Linked DNA regions of Homo sapiens: region 2 is linked to region 1. The links are contacts of gene promoters, found by promoter capture Hi-C in blood cells and fetal thymus (Javierre and others, 2016). All regions are on one chromosome and are shown on one strand. The core of a region is centred on a gene start or on the middle of the fragment in contact, and the rest is flanking DNA. Distances in the headings are between cores, read along the strand shown.

Region 1 (5,905 bases), core at 3,212-5,711:
CGCTGAGATTACAGGTATGAGCCACCACACCCGGCCAGGGAGAATGTTTCTCACTAGAGAAAATGTTACCAAATGAAGACTGTATGCCCCTCCTCTAAGTTGAGAAAATGGAAAACACTACTTAATGAGCACCTGCTGTATACCAAGCACTTTTCCATAATGTCATCGCTAAGAGCTCCAAGTTCTGAATTGTACAGCAAGGATGGGCTTTTGGCTTCCTCAGAGGTCATCTTGTTACCCGAAAAGATTCAGGCCTGCCAAAGGGTGTGCAAGCTGCCTCCCAGCGGCAGGTAAGGACAGGCCCAGAGCCTAGCGAGTCACTGCTTCATTCTTAGGTTCTGAGGACAAGCAGTAGGAATGGGAAAAGAGAACAACCAATTAATCCTAGTTGGATGCTAAGCAGTCTTTCAGAGTGGAGGGAAATATATCCCACTAAGGATGGTGACCTAAGACTCTAGAAGCCTCTGCTAGGTAGATCCATATGATGCCCTGGTCTTGCCAAGTTCAGGGAGCTGGGTGCCAAGTCTATCAGCATTCCTCTGGGGCCAGGCCAACAAAGGTAGCGTAAGAACATGGCTGAGTAACCCGAGCCTTGGTTAGGAGCCTCATATGTGCTCCCCTTAAAGGTGCTGTATTTTTCCATTCCTGGGAAATTCTTAAATCTCAGGTGACTCATCATCTCTTTCACTTGCACCAAAGGTGAACCCCAGCTCTCCTCCCTCCTTTTCCCTGTCCTAGCCCAACCTCAGCAGGGTCACACACCATCTCTGAGTGATCCTAGGGTCAGCTTGCCTGAGGCATCTGCCCTTCATTGTTGCTGCTTAGCATGATTTGGGGGGCATGGAGTTTCCCCTAGCGCAGGGTTGCCCGATTTAGCAAATAAAAATACAGGACACCCAGTTAAATTTGAATTTAAGATAAACAGTGAATGTATGTATGTATGTCTCAAATATTTTGTTGTACTTTGCCTGATAACTTCATCCCGGGAGTCTTTGTTTGTTTGTTTTTGGAGAGTCAGGGTCTCGCTCTGTCACCCAGGCCGGAGTGCAGTAGTGCAATCATAGCTCACTACAGCCTCAAACTCCTGGGCTCAAATGATCCTTATCCAGGGAGTATTTATTTATTTATATATATTTTTGAGACAGAGTCTCCCTCTGTTGCCCAGGCTGGAGTGCAGTGTTGCAATCTCGGCTCTGCAACTTCCACCTCCTGGGCTCAAGTGATTCTTGTGCCTCAGCCCCCTGAGTAGCTGGGATTACAGGTGCGCACCACCCTGCTCAGCTAATTTTTTTTTTTTTTTTTTTTTTTTTGGAGATGGAGTCTCACTCTGTTGCAGGCTGGAGTGCAGTGGCACAATCTCGGCTCACTGCAAGCTCCGTCTCCTGGGTTCACGCCATTCTCCTGCCTCAGCCTCCCGAGTAGCTGGGACTACAAGTGCCCGCCACCACGTCTGGCTAATTTTTTTGTATTTTTAGTAAAGACAGGGTTTCACCGTGTTAGCCAGGATGGTCTCGATCTCCTGACCTCGTGATCCACCCACCTTAGCCTCCCAAAGTGCTGGGATTACAGGCGTGAGCCACTGTGCCCAGCCGCTCAGCTAATTTTTTATTTTTAGTAGAGATGGGGTTTTGCCATGTTGCCCAGGCTGGTCTCGAACTCATGTCCTCAAGTGATCCGCTCGCCTAGACCTCCTAAGTGCTAGGATTACAGGCGTGAGTCACCATTCCCGACCTCTGGAGTATTTAAATGCCTTCCTTTTTTTTTTTTTTTTTTGAGATGGAGTCTTGCTCTGTTGCCCAGGCTAGAGTGCAACAACATGATCTTGGCTCACTGCAACCTCCACCTCCCGGGTTCAAGCCTCAGCCTCGGGAGTAGCTGGGATTACAGGCACGTGCCACCACGCCTGACTAATTTTTTGTATTTTTAGTAGAGATGGGGTTTCGCCACGTTGCCCAGGCTGGTCTCAAACTCCTGACCTCAGGTGATCCACCCGCCTCGGCCTCACAAAGTGCTGAGATTACAGGCACGACCCACTGCACCCGGCCTATTTATTTATTTATGCAAGAGTCTTGCTCTGTTGCCCATGCTGGAGTGCAATGGCACGATCTTGGCTCACTGCAACCTTTGCCTACCGGGTTCAAGCGATTCTCCTGCCTCAGCCTCCTGAGTAGCCGGGGTTACAGGCTCACACTACCACACCCAGCTAATATTTGTATTTTTAGCAGAGAAGGGGTTTTATCATGTTGGCCAGGCTTGTCTTGAACCCCTGACCTCATGTGATCCACCCACTTTGGCCTGCCAAAGTGGTGGGATTACAGGGGTGAGCCACCAAGCCAGCCTTACCACACTATTTAAAATTACCTCCCTCTCTCACTGCCCCCCTTTCCTGCTTTATTTTTCTCAGTAGCATTTATCACCATGTAATAGGCTATCTACTTATTTATTGTCTGTCTCCCTCACTACAAATAAAAACTCCATTAAGTCTCTGTCTATTTTATTTATTGATGTATCCTCTGTGCCTAAAACAAGAGTGTGTCAAATAATAGGCACTCAATAACTCAGTGTTGTACGAATAAATCTATCTGTAAAAAGAGAGGTAATAATAAGATCTACCTCCCAGGGAAATACGATGACAGTTATGAAAATTAAATGAGAGAATAAATGTAAAGACCTTGCATTTAAATACTCTAGGCAGATACCGAGTAAGTATTCATCTAGGATGCTTCTTTGTTGGCTGAGTCCTGGGAGAAGGGTGTGTGGCAGGCCAGGTCTCACTAACACAGGCCTCCATAACAACTGTTTCAGTACTAACTGAGTGGTTAAGTTACATATTAAAAGCTAAAAAAAAAAAGCCAGTGCCCTTATACAAAGGATGGAATGTAACAAAAGCCCACCAAGAGTTTTGCCTAGGCCTTTCCTTGGCCTTAAAGCATGACAAAATAACGAAAGAATTCCTAACAGGACCCATTTAGGATTAAACAAATTTTATTGGGGGTCTGAAGTAACTCCCCAAACCTCCGTGATTTAGTAGGAGGCAAGATAAGGATAATCACCCCAGCACCTATTGCCATTTAGATTAAGTAAATTTACTGAGGCTTCAAAGGAAAGTCTTCAGGACTCAAACCTTAGTTATAGACTAAAGTGAGTTAATCAATTATTATTATTATTATTTTTTTTTTTTTGAGACGGAGCCTCCCTCGCCCAGGCTGGAGTGCAGTGCCGGGATCTCGGCTCACTGCAAGCTCCGCCTTCCGGGTTCACGCCATTCTCCTGCCTCAGCCTCCCTAGTAGCTGGGACTACAGGCGCCTGTCACTGCGCCCAGCTAATTTTTTGTATTTTTAGTAGAGATGGGGTTTCACCGTGGTCTCGATCTCCTGACCTCGTGATCCGCCCGCCTTGGCCTCCCAAAGTGCTGGGATTACAGGCATGAGCCACCGCGCCCGGCGAGTTAATCACTTATGTCTTTAGATGAATGCACATTTACACGTAGACATATAGCTTAGAAGGTATATAAGCTCTGGAAAGCTTTGTAATTTTAAGTTGGTCTGGTGATAATTTCCAGGCCTTCTCCCTGTAACTGGTTGCAGAAATAAAAACTCGCTTCCTCTCCAGTTCATCTGCATCTCCTTACTGAACCAGGAGAAACAGCAGCCTGACGCTCAGTTTGGTCCAGGAACAGGTGGTGGAGGGCTCTCGAACTTTTTTCTTTTTTTTTTTTTTTTTTTGAGATGGAGTCTCGCTCTGTCGCCCAGGCTGGGGTGCAGTGGCGCGATCTCGGCTTACTGCAAGCTCCGCCTCCTGGGTTCACGCCATTCTCCTGCCTCAGCCTCATGAGTAGCTGGGACTACAGGCGCCCGCCACTACGCCCCGCTAACTTTTTTTGTATTTTTAGTAGAGATGGGGTTTCACCGTGTTAGCCAGGATGGTCTCGATCTCCTGACCTTGTGATCCGCCCGCCTCGGCCTCCCAAAGTGCTGGGATTACAGGCTGAGCCACAGCGCCCGGCTCTCTCGAACTTTTTTGGCAGATTTTTGCTGTTGATCAGCCCCGCTTCCCCAACTTTCCCCTGGGTCTCTCTCCCCCGGGAGTTTCTGGTTCCTCTGCGATTAATCACAGCCAAGTCTAGCTGGTTCTTCAGGACGGAGAATAAATAGGATAAACAGGAGCAGCCGAACCCTAACTTTGAGAGCTTTCTCCCCTCCTCTCCTAACTTCCCAGTCAGTGACTCGGAAGACTTTAACAGCAACAGCTGCCTCCTCTTGCCAGCTTGATCCCACCTGCTAAGTGAAGGAACAGCGTTTAAAGAGGTGGCAATCGGCAAGGGTGGATGCTTCCCTTTCCGCGCAGGCGCGTTCAGTCGCAGCACCGCGACTATCGTGATAGACAAGCGAGATCGACGCTGGCCCTTTAATAGCCCTTTCCCGGGGTCCTGCCCCGCGCGTGCGCACTGTGGTTCTGCGCTTGTCATCATGGCGACGCGGGGCCATGTGCAGGACCCTAACGACAGGCGCCTCCGGCCCATTTACGGTGAGTGTCTTGGACCAGCCCGCTCGCCAGCCCGACGCGCCGAGGGCTGCCGAGGCTGGGGCGAAAGCCCAGGAGGGGTGCTGAGGGCCGGCGCGCGGGCCGGGCAGGCGCAGGGGGGCGGGCCGCGCGGGCCACTAGGCCGCAGCCGCGGGCCTCGCGTAGGCGCCGGCCCAACCTTCCTCAGCCTTGGGGTGGTAGTGGCGCGGTCTGGGCAGCAGCTGGTCGGCAGAGCTGGCCTGCTTGGCAGGCCCCGTGGGACGCGTGGTTCTGCAGACACCTGCGCTACCCGCAGGCTGCATCGTTACCGCCGCTCCTAGGGAGACCGGAGATCTCCCCGAAGGTGGAAGCCGGCTCCGGCACGAGGGTGGGACGCCCTGCCTGAGGGAAGATTCCCTACCAGAGATTTTTTTTTATTTACGGGAATTGGGCCTAGAGGGTTGTCTGACTAGGTGGGCTTCGGTGCATAGGAGAAACTGAGGTCCGGAGTGGGGAAGGGGCTGACGCAAGGTCACCCAGATCGAGTCAGGAGCAGGCCCGAGATTCCAGGCTCCCAATCCAGAGCTGTTGGGTGGAGAAGCAGCTACTCTGGTCACACGTGGGAGGCGGGGGGAGGGGGTCTTGGGCCTAAAATAGCGGTGAAGAGATTGTGATAGCTCGTGTCAGAGGGGCATGCAGAGCTACTGGAGGGCTTCTCCTTTCTGCAGCTTCTCTGTGGTTTTCTCTGCAGCTTTCCTTCCCTGTGCTAAGCAGATCCCTCTCCACAACTCTTACCTCAACCCGCAGACTTGAAGACCTTGATGTCATCTCATCCATTTACCCTGGTAGTGAAAAATCACAGATTTTGAGTTTGGGAGAAACCCTTTTCCAATAACCGAAATGTGTAATTGGATTGGTCCTTTTTGCATTTCCTTTCCTCTTAGATGGTTTTATGGTCTTGGTCTATCTCACTTAATGGTGAGGAAGCTTCAAGGTCAGTGGTTTTTACAAAAGTAGACATCGTATTTATAGACCTCATGTGGATGTTACTAAATTGGAGGCTTCTCTCCAAGGTGGGAATCGTTTTGGGAGCGGGGGGCGGTGGTTAACTTTGTTTCTGGCCACAGTTAGTCCGGCTTTTATTTCATAATTTGTGTGATTTTTTTTTTTACTCTCACATCTCATTTGATTTTAGCAACAATCCTATAGCTAAGGTTTATAGATGACTCATTATGACAGTCACTGGCCTTGGCCTTTTATATGGGTTATCTAATATAATCTTCACCCATTCTCAAGAGGTGGCTACTGTTTTTTCCTGCCCCTGAACCCTTTAACAACAACAACAACAAAAAAAAAAACAGATGAGGAAACTGAGGCTTTATTGTTGTTGTGTAATTTGTC
Region 2 (5,430 bases), core at 735-3,234, 520 kb after region 1:
ACTGCACCGAGCCCCCTCCCTTTATTTTTATTTTTAAATTTTAAGTTCTGGGGCCCCTCCCTTGAAATAAATAGAAACGTAATATATACACAAGATCATGCTGTGTATTTTAAGGCAATGGTCCTCAACCTTTTTAACACTAGGGACCGGTTTTGTGGAAGATGGTTTTTCCATAGGGGCAGGGGATGATTTTGAGATGAAACTGTTCCACCGGCCGGGCACGGTGGCTCACGCCTGTAATCCCAGCACTTTGGGAGGCCGAGGCGGGCAGATCACGAGGTCAGGAGATCGAGACCATCCTGGCTAACATGGTGAAACCCCCCTCTACTAAAAATACAAAAAAATTAGCTGGGCGCGGTGGAGGGCGCCTGTAGTCACAGCTACTCCGGAGGCCGAGGCAAGAGAATGGCATGAAACCCGGGAGGCAGAGCTTGCAGTGAGCTGAGATAGCACCACTGTACTTCAGCCTGGGGGACAAAGTGAGACTCCGTCTAAAAAAAAAAAAATTGTTCCACCTCAGATCATTATGCATTTGTTAGATTCTCATAAAGAGCATACAACCTACATCTCTTGCTATATGCAGTTCCCAGTAGGGTTTGTGCTTCTATAAGAACCTAATGCTGCACCTGATCTAACAGGTGGGGCTCAGGTGCTAATGCTCACACAGCTCCTGTTGTGCAGTCTGGTTCCTAACAGGCCTGTTTTTTTTTTTTTAATTAGATGGAGTCTCGCTCTGTCACCAGGCTGGAGTGCAGTGGCACGATCTCAGCTCACTGCAACCTCTGCCTCCCGGGTTCAAGCGATTCTCCTGCCTTAGCCTCCCATGTAGTTGGTACTACAGGCGCACACTGTGATGCCCAGCTAATTTTTGTATTTTTAGTAGAGACGGGGTTTCACCATGTTGGCCAGGATGGTGTCGATCTCCTGACCTTGTGATCCGCCCAACAGCCTCCCAAAGTGCTGGAATTACAGGCGTGAGCTGCTGCGTCCGGCCCCCTAACAGGCTTGTTTTATGGAATACAGTCACGGACAGTACTTGCCCTTCAGGATATCTTTTTGTAACCTTGATTTTGGCTTGCTAAAATAGGAGGTCTATTTTCTTTTCTTTGTTTTTAATGTATGTGGTTCTGTACTTACGTGGTGTGAAATCTACATAAATGTTAAATCCTTGGTTATTTATTTATTTTGAGACAGAGTCTCACTCTGTCACCCAGTCTGGAAAGCAGTGGCATAATCTCGGCTCACTGTAACCTCCACTTCCCAGGTTCCAGTGATTCTCCTGCCTCAGCCTCCTGAGTAGCTGGGATTACAGGCATGCACCACTACACCTGGCAAATTTTTGTATTTTTTTTTAGTAGAGATGGGGTTTCACCATGTTGGCCAGGCTCGTCTTGAACTCCTGACCTTAGGTGATCTGCCTGTCTTGGCCTCCCAAAGTTTTGGGATTACAGCATGAGCCACTGCGCCTCGCCTTATTTTTTTGAGACAGGTTCTAGCTCTGTCACCCAGGCGGGAGTGCAGTGGTGCCATCATGGCTCATTGCAACCTCGAGTTCTCAGGCCCAAGTGATCCTCCTATCTCAGCCTCCTGAGTAGCTGGGACCACAGGCATGCGCCACTATGCCCAGCAAAATTTTTGTTTCACTCTGTTGCCTAGGGTGGGGTGCAGTGGCAGGATATCGGCTCAGTGCAACCTCTGCCTCTTGCGTTCAAATGATTCTCATGCCTCAGCCTCCCGAGTAGCTGGGATTATAGGCATGCGCCACTACACCTGGCTAATTTTTGTATTATTGGTAGAGATGGGGTTTTATCATGTTGGCCAGGCTGGTCTCGAACTCCCGACCTCAGGTGATCCATATACCTTGGCCTCCTGAAGTGCTGGAATTACAGGCATAAGCCACTGCGCCTAGCTTTTTTGTTTGTTTTTATTTTGTAGGGACAGAGATTTTACCTGTTGCCCAGGATGGCCTTGAATTCCTGACCTCAAACAATTTGCCCTCCTTGGCCTCCCAAGGTGCTGGGATTACAGGTGTGAGCCACTATGCCTGGCTGGTTTTTTAAATTATTATTATTGTTTGTGTGTGTGTGTTGCAGGATCTTACCCTGTCACCCAGGCTGGAATGCAGTGATGTGATCTCGGCTTACTGCAACCTCCGCCTCCTAGGTTCAAGTGATTGTCCTGCCTCAGCCTCCTGAGTAGCTGGGATAACAGCTGTGTGCCACCATGCCTGGCTAATTTTTGTATTTTTAGTAGAGATGGGGTTTCATCATGTTGGCCAGGCTGGTCTCGAACTCCTGACCTTAGATGATCCACCCGCCTCGTCCTCCCAAAGTGCTGGGATTACAGGTGTGAGCCACCGTGACCAGTTTGGTTTAGTTTTTTTTTTTTTTTTTTTTTTTTTTTTTTTTTGAGAAATCTCGCTCTGTCGCCCAGGCTAGAGTGCGGTGACACAATCTCAGCTCACTGCAAGCTCCACCTCCCAGGTTCATGCCATTCTCCTGCCTCAGCCTCCCGAGTAGCTGGGACTACATGCGCCCGCCACCATGCCCGGCTAATTTTTTTTATGCATTTTAAGTAGAGATGGGGTTTCACTGTGTTAGCCAGGATTGTCTCAATCTCCCGACCTCTTGATCTGCCCGCCTCGGCTTCCCAAAGTGCTGGGATTATAGGCATGAGCCACCGCGTCCGGCCTGGTTTGGTATTTTTTTTATGAGTCTGGGTTGTTTATGAAAACTTGTCACAGCTGTTAACCTTAACTTTTTTTTTTTCTTTTTTTTCCGAGACGGAGTCTCGCTCTGTCACCTAGGCTGGAGTGCAGTGGTGCGATCTCGGCTCATTGCAACCTCTGCCTCCCAGGTTAAAGCGATTTTTCTGCCTCAGCCTCCTGAGTAGCTGGGACTGCAGGCACGCACCATCTCGCCTGGCTAATTTTTGTATTTTAGTAGAGATGGGGTTTCACCATATTGGCCAGGCTGGTCTGGAACTTCTGGCCTCAAGTGATCCACCTGCCTTGGCCTCCCATGCCTGGCAACCTTAACTTTTTATTTGCTGGTAATTATTTGTGTTTGCATTCATGTGAAAATTTGAAATTCTCATTAACATTTAAAGATTCTTACATAGATTGCTTGTAATTTTAACCCTGAAGTTGTGTCAAGTGACTTTACAATGTCAATTTGTTTTATTTATTTATTTATTTATTTATTTATTTATTTTTGTGATAGGATCTGGCTCTGTTGCTAAGGCTGGAGTGCAGTGTTGCAAATACGGCTCACTGCAACCTCTGTCTCCCGGGTTCAAGCCATCCTCCCACCTCAGCCTCCCAAGTAGTTGGAACTACTGGTGCGCCCCACAGTGCCTGCCTAGTTTTTTTGTATTTTCAGTAGATGTGGAGTTTTGCCATGTTGATCTTGAACTCATGGCCTCGAGTGATCCACCCCACTTAGGCCTCCTAACATGCTGGTGTTACAGGTGTGAGCCACTGTGTCCAGCCCGAAAATGTCAGTTTCGTGCCATGATTAATAGCTAACTACATTTTGGGAATGTAATAAAATTTCATTCTATAATGAAGTCTTTGTAAAACTCATTAGTTGTGGTATGAGGCTTGTCGGCAATATAAGTGAACGTGGTTTATTTTTATTAACTGTATCAGAACTTTAGAATGTTGGTCTCCTGAAACCATTGCCTTGAGAGGCTTTATTGAACAGTGTTGCCAATGATCAGTTTTTTTTTAAATTTCCTTTTTTTTGAGACTGAGTCTTACCCTGTTGGCCAGGTTGGAGTATAGTGGTATGGTCATGGCTCACTGCAGCCTCAACATCCTGGGCTCAAGCAGTCCTCCTACCTCAGTCTCCCGAGTAGCTGGAACTACAGGTGTATGCCACCATGCCTGGCTTTTGTATATTTTGTAGAGACAGGGTTTAGCCATGTTGCCCAGGCTGGTCTCAAACTCTTAAATTCAAATGATCCACCCACCTAGTTTTCCCAAAGTGCTTTAATTACATGTGTGAGGCACCGTGGCTGGCCAGGTCAAATATTTTTCATTGACGTTTTTCATATTGCTTTTTAAAGTCATGTTAAAATATTCTTAATAATTTTTCTAAGTGGAATTAATCTTGATTATAATTTTAGTTTTTTATAAAGGGCGGGTTTTGAAACAAGTACTGCATTTTTCTTTTCGGGTTTATAAACATTTGCTGTGGACTTTGTGCAGTTAACTATTTTCATTCCTGAAACACATTTCGAAATCAGGAATTGAAGACTAAATGTCTTTTCACTGAAGCTTGAGCAGATTTTAGAAAGGGGAGTTCTTTTTTTTTTTTTTTTTTTTGGTAGAAATGGGGGTCTTGTTATGTTGCCCAGGCTGGCCTCCAACTTCTGGGCTTAAACTGTCCTCCTGCTTTAGCCTCTGGTCTGGAGAGTTCTTTATGGCCTCTTTGAGAACTTTTACTTTACACATGATTCTATCTAGCTTTCTTTTCTGATGTACATATTGGCAGCAAGTAGAAAAGCAATGTTTTCAGAGGCAGATATATTAACAGCAATGAGAAATAACAGTAGCGTGATAGAAAGTTGAAAGACTTAGCTGGGTGCGGTGGCTCACGCTTGTAATCCCAGCACTTTGGGAGGCCAAGGAGGGTGGATCACTTGAGGTCAGGAGTTCGAGACCAGTCTGGCCAACATGGTGAAACCCTGTCTCTACTGAAAAACAGAAAAAGGGCCGGGCGTGGTGGCTCACCCCTGTAATCCCAGCACTTTGGGAGGTTGAGGAGGGCGGATTACAAGGTCAAGAGATTGAGACCATTCTGGCCAACAGGGTGAAACCCCATCTCTACTAAAAATACAAAAAAATTAAATGGGCGTGGTGATGTGTGCCTGTAGTCCCAGCTACTCGGGAGGCTGAGGCAGGAGAATTGCTTGAACCCGGGAGGCAGAGGTTGCAGTGAGCCGAGATCGGGCCACTGCACTGACGACAGAGGGAGACTCCGTCTAAAAAAAAAAAAAAAAAAAAAAAACCAGACTTGGGGCTGGGCGGGCGCCTGTAATCCCAGCTACTTGGGAGGCTGAGGCAGGAGAATCGCTTGAACCCGGGAGGTGAAGGTTGCAGTGAGCTCAGATTGTGCCACTGTGCCCCAGCCTGGGCCACAGAGCAGAGTGAGACTCTGTCTCAAAAAAAAAAAAAAAGTTTGGAAGACTGGTGGCTGGGCATGGTGGCTCACACCTGTAATCCCAACACTTTGGGAGGCTGAAGCAGGCAGATTACCTGAGCCCAGGAGTTCAAGTCCAGCCTGGGCAACACAGGGAAACCCCATCTCAACAAAAAATATTAATACAAAAAATTTAGCCAGTCATGGTCGTGCACTTCTGTAGTCTCAGCTACTTGGGAGGCTGAGGCAGGTGGTTCACTTAAGTCTGGATGTCGAGGTGAGCCAT

The links. The method cuts DNA at HindIII sites, captures the fragments that hold promoters and counts their contacts. A CHiCAGO score of 5 or more calls a contact.
Region 2: a fragment that was not itself captured here is called in contact with the fragment with the promoter of NAA25 in region 1 in 1 of 17 cell types (monocytes); the score reaches 5.3 in monocytes.

What each region holds. Positions count from the first base shown.
Region 1 is chr12:112,107,339-112,113,243 of GRCh38, reverse strand. It overlaps NAA25 (N-alpha-acetyltransferase 25, NatB auxiliary subunit), which reads left to right and starts at 4,461. Exons shown (of 24, transcript NM_024953.4): 1 at 4,461-4,528. The coding sequence starts at 4,471. RefSeq lists silencers at 4,512-4,591, 4,612-4,691. The HindIII fragment of the contact is 1,965 bases long and covers 3,529-5,493 here.
Region 2 is chr12:111,585,971-111,591,400 of GRCh38, reverse strand. All of the region lies in intron 1 of ATXN2 (ataxin 2), which reads left to right. Among named protein-coding and RNA genes, the nearest start is that of ATXN2, 11 kb to the left of the region's middle. The HindIII fragment of the contact is 4,595 bases long and covers 1-4,281 here.